2 separate regions of the Homo sapiens genome follow, and region 1 is linked to region 2. Evidence: promoter capture Hi-C in 16 types of primary human blood cells and fetal thymus (Javierre and others, 2016). All regions are on one chromosome and are shown on one strand. The core of a region is centred on a gene start or on the middle of the fragment in contact, and the rest is flanking DNA. Distances in the headings are between cores, read along the strand shown. Region 1 overlaps DNAJC8 (DnaJ heat shock protein family (Hsp40) member C8). Region 2 holds the start of PPP1R8 (protein phosphatase 1 regulatory subunit 8).

The links. Contacts are between HindIII fragments. The CHiCAGO score rates a contact against its expected background, and 5 or more counts as called.
Region 1: a fragment that was not itself captured here is called in contact with the fragment with the promoter of PPP1R8 in region 2 in 3 of 17 cell types (M1 macrophages, M2 macrophages and endothelial precursors); the score reaches 5.6 in M1 macrophages.

What each region holds. Positions count from the first base shown.
Region 1 is chr1:28,209,534-28,212,233 of GRCh38, forward strand. It overlaps DNAJC8 (DnaJ heat shock protein family (Hsp40) member C8), which reads right to left. Exons shown (of 9, transcript NM_014280.3): 4 at 1,038-1,104; 5 at 439-533. Among named protein-coding and RNA genes, the nearest start is that of DNAJC8, 22 kb to the right of the region's middle. The HindIII fragment of the contact is 1,549 bases long and covers 520-2,068 here.
Region 2 is chr1:27,829,398-27,832,097 of GRCh38, forward strand. PPP1R8 (protein phosphatase 1 regulatory subunit 8) reads left to right here and starts at 1,385. Exons shown (of 7, transcript NM_014110.5): 1 at 1,385-1,494. The coding sequence starts at 1,439. LOC124903885 (a long non-coding RNA gene) reads right to left here and starts at 2,386. Exons shown (of 2, transcript XR_007065562.1): 1 at 1,352-2,386. RefSeq lists enhancers at 864-1,649, 1,523-1,692, 1,650-2,434 and a silencer at 1,313-1,392. The HindIII fragment of the contact is 9,216 bases long and covers 1-2,700 here.

The DNA.
Region 1 (2,700 bases), core at 44-2,543, 380 kb after region 2:
ACCTCCTCCTATTTTAAAAAAAGTTTACGCCTATCCTCTTGCTAGCCTTTGCCAAGCCTTGTTGCAAACCCTTCACAGGGACAAGAATAAAAATCAAGAGTCAAGAGTCACAGGCTGCTCCACGTTTCCACTCTAAGAATGGGGTAAGTGGCAATATGTGATGAGAGGGAGAGAACAACCCTTTCTCCCCAACACAGGACTGGTAGGGAAAGAGGTAGGAGCAGTGTACCAGCTACTCCTCATCTGAGTTCTTCTCTTAGGGGTGAATTACAGCTTCAGGCACACACTATTCATGACCACCACAGCAAAGTGGTAGAGAGCACAGAAGTAGCCACAGGTTGTGCCAGTAGGCATTACTATGTTCATATGTACCCTTCTACAAGGTGCCCAAGGCTTGCTGATACTTCCTGTAAACACAGCAGCACTATAAATACTTACAGTGTGTTCCACGTATTCTTTTCCTGCCTGAATTACATCCAGGGCCCTCTTCTTTTGCTCCTGATCCAGTAGCAACTTGTAAGCTTTGTCCACAGCTAATGCAAAACATTGAAATTAACTGTTTCTGCAAACACCCTCTGAAAGTCTGAACTATACTCAGGCAGTGTAAATGGACTTGTGCTCTCTAAAGCATTCCCTACTTTAATTATTTACTGTCGTTAAACTAAGTTAAAAAAAACATTCAACTATAGCAATGACTTTCCTTAAGAGCCTTGGAAAAAATTAAATATATACTCAAGGCTAAATACACTACATCTGGATTTAATTCAGTGATAAAATTCTTTATGTTCAAAGAAAAAAAATGATCCTATGCAATAACAGTCTTTGTTGGCATATAAAAGTTTTAACAAAGCAAAGTTAAGGTCTACTTCTTAAACAACAACATTCTGCTTTGAAATGGCAACTGCTCTACTGAAAACCACAGCTTCTTGGTGACCAGAAGACAAAACTATAACAGTCTTTGCTTGATCTAGGACAAGGAACAGTTAGGCCCTGCCATTCACAATCTAATACTCAGAAGCAGGTAAATTTACAAATACCTTCAAAAGCCTTTTGTGCTCTGTCAGCATCATCTTGATTTTTGTCAGGATGCACCAAGATGGATAACTACAATAAGAGAAAAGTTGGGGTTGTCAATAAGGGAAACATTTACTAACTTCCAGCCTGCCCTGTCTCGTTACAACCAAAAGCTCTAAGGTCCTACGGCAAAAAGAGACTCTTAGCAAAAGCATTTAAAAAATTAACAAATCTCTTTAAATGCCCAGAAATACTGATCTTTAACAAAATTCAAGCACCAAAAGGTAAAGGTACAACTAGGAAACATTTCAGGTTTTAATCACAAAGTTGAGACCAAACATGCCAGGCACAGAGGCTCACGCCTGTCATCCCACCACTTTGGGAGGCTGAGGTGAGAGGATTACTTAAGCCCAGGACTTCGAGACCAGCCTGAGCAACATAGCAAGACCCTGTCTCTACAAAAAAAAAATTTTTTAATTACCCAGACATGGTGGTGGTCGCCTGTAGTCCAAGCTATTTAGGAAGCTAACGTGGGAGAATCACTTGAGCCTGGGAGGTTGAGATTGTGCCACTGCACTCCAGCCTGGGCAACAAAGTGAGACCCTGTCTCCAGGAAAAAACAAAAACAAAAACAAAAACAAAAACAAATGGAAGCCTAGCACTATGAAGATGTTGTAATAATTTGGGGGAGGAGGGAGACTGAAAGGTATCAAGTTCCTATTATGTTCCTTATGCAGGTTGAGCACCCAAAATCCAAAAGGCTCCAAAATCTGAAACTTTCTGAGTGCTAACATGATGCTCAAAGGAAACGCTCATTGGAACATTTTGAATTTTCGGATTAGGGATGCTCGACCATTATGCATTCTGCAAATATTCCAAAATCTGAAAAAATCTGAAATCTGAAATACTTCTAGTCTCAAGCATTTCAGATAAGGGATACTCAACCTGTACTAAGCACTAAGGTGGCTAAAGCAGGTATGAGACATCAACTCTCTCCTAAAAGAACTCCTAATCTAAAGCAGTTTCTCATTCTGCCTGTGCTCCAACCCTGTGAAGCTTCTGAAAAAGACAACATTCTAATTTCCACCCTCAGACCTTCTGAGTTAGTCTTTGGCATCTGCACTTTGTAAACCTCTACTAGACTGGGTTTCAGATGATCGTAGGGAATTAGCCCTTATTTTGTTAGGTGGGATAAGTGATTATGCAAGAAAATGTCCTTTTTTTGGGAAGGGTACAAGCTGAAGTATTTAGGGGTAAAGCATCATGGTTTATTGCAATTTACAATGATTCAGCCAAAAATATATAGTTAAATATATAGTCAGTGTCTGCCAGGAGCAGTGGCTCCCGCCTGTAATCCCAGCACTTTGGAAGGCTGAGGCTGGCAGATCACTTGAGGTCAGGAGTTCGAGACCAGCCTGGCCTACATGGTGAAACCCCGTCTCTACTAAAAATACAAAAATTTGGCAGGCACAGTGGCACACATCTATAATACCAGCTACTCAGGACGCTGAGGCAAGAGAATCACTTGAACTCAGGAGGTGGAGGCTGCCGTGAGCCAAGATCGCAACACTGTACTGCAACCTGGGTGACAGAGCCGGACTCCGTCTCAATAAATAAATAAATATATATATATATATATATATATATATATATATATATATATATATAAATGAAATTAACTATTCA
Region 2 (2,700 bases), core at 135-2,634:
ACATGGGAGACTTTTCATTTTGTTCTGTACTAAGAAAAATTCTTCTGCCTTGGGATCCTGTTGATCTATGACCTTACCCCCAACCCTGTGCTCTCTCCACTCAGGGTTAAATGGATAAAGGGCAGTGCAAGATGTGCTTTGTTAAACAGATGCTTGAAGGCAGCATGCTCATTAAGAGTCATCACCACTCCCTAATCTCAAGTACCCAGGGACACAAACACTGCGGAAGGCCACAGGGTCCTCTGCCTAGGAAAACCAGAGACCTTTGTTCACTTGTTTATCTGCTGACCTTCCCTCCACTATTGTCCTATGACCCTGCCAAATCCCCCTCTGCGAGAAACACCCAAGAATGATCAATAAAAAAATAAAAAATAAAAAACCAGAGGCCCTGCTAATGGTCTCTTAAAACCAGCTGGTGATCTAGGGCAAGCGAGCAATCCTTATGCTTCCTTGCCCTATAACCAAAAGCAAAAAATCCTTTTTAAAAAAATTAACCATTTGAGCCAAGCACAGTGATGATTTGGACCCCTGCTTTCTGACTGGACCTGCTCCTGGCTCCTGCTTGTCCAGAGTTTTCATAAACAGACTAGGTGACCCCTAATGCAGATTCCCTGACAATCTACAGGCCTAAACGTGAATTAGAAAAAAGTGAGTAGGGTGCCACTTTTTGGAGAAGGGCTGAAGAGAAACAATAATCACTCCAATCTCCGAGTTTTGCCCTTTAGCTTCTCCGCTTTGAGGGCAAAAGGCTGACGGTCTTAACCTAAACTCTGGAGGAGGATGTAGTCCCCAGATTTTTTCTTTCTTTACTTTTTTTTTTTTTTTTTTTGAGACGGAGTCTCGCTCTGTTGCCCAGGCTGGAGTGCAATGGCGCGATCTCGGCTCACTGCAACCTCTGCCTCCCGAGTGCAAGCGATTCTCCTGCCTTAGCCTCCCAAGTAGCTGGGATTACAGGCATGTGCCACTACACTCGACTAATTTTTGTATTTTTAGTAGAGACGGGGTTTCACCATGTTGGTCAGGCTGGTCTCAAACTCCCGACCTCAAGTGATCCGCCCGCCTCAGCCTCCGAAAGTGCTGGGATTACAGACGTGAGCCATCGCGCACGGCTTAGTCCCAAGATTTTAGAGCCAAGAAGCGTTTGCAGGAGGACGTAGGGAAAGACTGACTCCCCTCCCTACAAAGCCCCTTTTCCTTTGACACCTCCTGGCCAAGGAAAACCCTAACCACTGGAGACTTCCAGAGACGGCCAACTCGCACAAACGCTGAAAAAAAAAAAATCCCAAAAGCTCCTCTGTCCCCACTAGAAGCACCGCCCCCCGTACGGGCGTGCGTGAGCGTGCGTACGCACAGGCTGCTGGGATGCCGCTTTTCCCTTCTCGGTCTTCCAGTTTCCCGGCGTGCTTAGGGCGCGCCAAATGGGAGGGGGAGACGCAAGATGGCGGCAGCCGCGAACTCCGGCTCTAGCCTCCCGCTGTTCGACTGCCCAACCTGGTGAGTGGCGGGGCGGCCAGGGCTAGAGTGGCCCGGCCGGAGCTAGCCTGGGCTGGAAGGGCGGCTCTTTTTTTACTTTTCTGCTGCGAGCCGAACGGCTCAGAAACCCCGGAATGGTTGAGGAAAAACTGTTTGCTGCACCGGGCCGGGCGACGTGTTGAAGAACCGAGAGCCTGGAGCCCAGGCCCAGGAACTGAAGAAACCCGGGGTTGGGGGCTCAAAGGCGCTCACTTAGGCAGCCCCTTTGAGCGATTAGCCAGTCGCCGGAGCGCTTCGAGGCCTTGGCCCGAACTTACGCCCAACTCTTGACTGAGTGCCTGGTGCTCTCGTGGAGCATCGCATCTGGCCCCTTCCTGTACGTCCCGAGCGCGCTCGAGCCAGCCCCGGCCCCAACCCTACCTCCAAGCCCCGCATCCCTCTGTGGTTGCTGCATCCCTCGTGCGGCACTTGTCTGTCTGCCACAGAGAATACGAGGGTAGGTTAGCGCCATCCCTGCCCTCAGGGAGCTCCCAGTCTGTGGCACTAGTAGGCATTAGTAATGGTTGGCATGAACCCTTTTTATCCCTTCGAAAGTTCTTGGGAATAATGAAATAATTTAATTTGGTCTTTGAGTAGGGTACAAGTTGAATAAATATGAATTACCTTACAAGGAAACGCTTCTGAATTAAGAGTTTTTTTCTGCTGTAGCTCATCGCAGTGTATTGTTTGTTGCTTGTCTCTGTCTCCCGTTGTATTGCCATCCTCAAGGGCAAAGACTGCATCTTTGTATTCCCAGCTCCTAGGCCTGAGTCAGGCACATAGTAGGAATTCAGAAAGTATGTTTTGGATGTAACATTCCTCCTTTTTCCTGGACAAAATGGCCTTTTGTCCGGTGCATTGTCCTTTCCATAGAGGAGGGGTTGGGGCAGGATTGTGAGATGACTGTGTTGAATCTTCAGTTAGCTAGACAAGGATACGTTTTTTCATGTGCAAATCTAAAGGTTCTAGTGAGGTGGTTCTTTTTTCTAACTTCAAATTAGCAAACCCAAAAAGCAAGCAAATGTGTGGCTATTTTCTGGATCGCTTTGCACTTTTGTAGTAGTTGCTTCAGTCTACAAATTCTGTATCCATTTTGATCCCTCGCTGTATTGATTTCAAATTTGGGCCGAGATAGCAAACATAGTTAGAAAGCACTGTTTTTGAGATCACCTACCCTTTCCTTAGGAT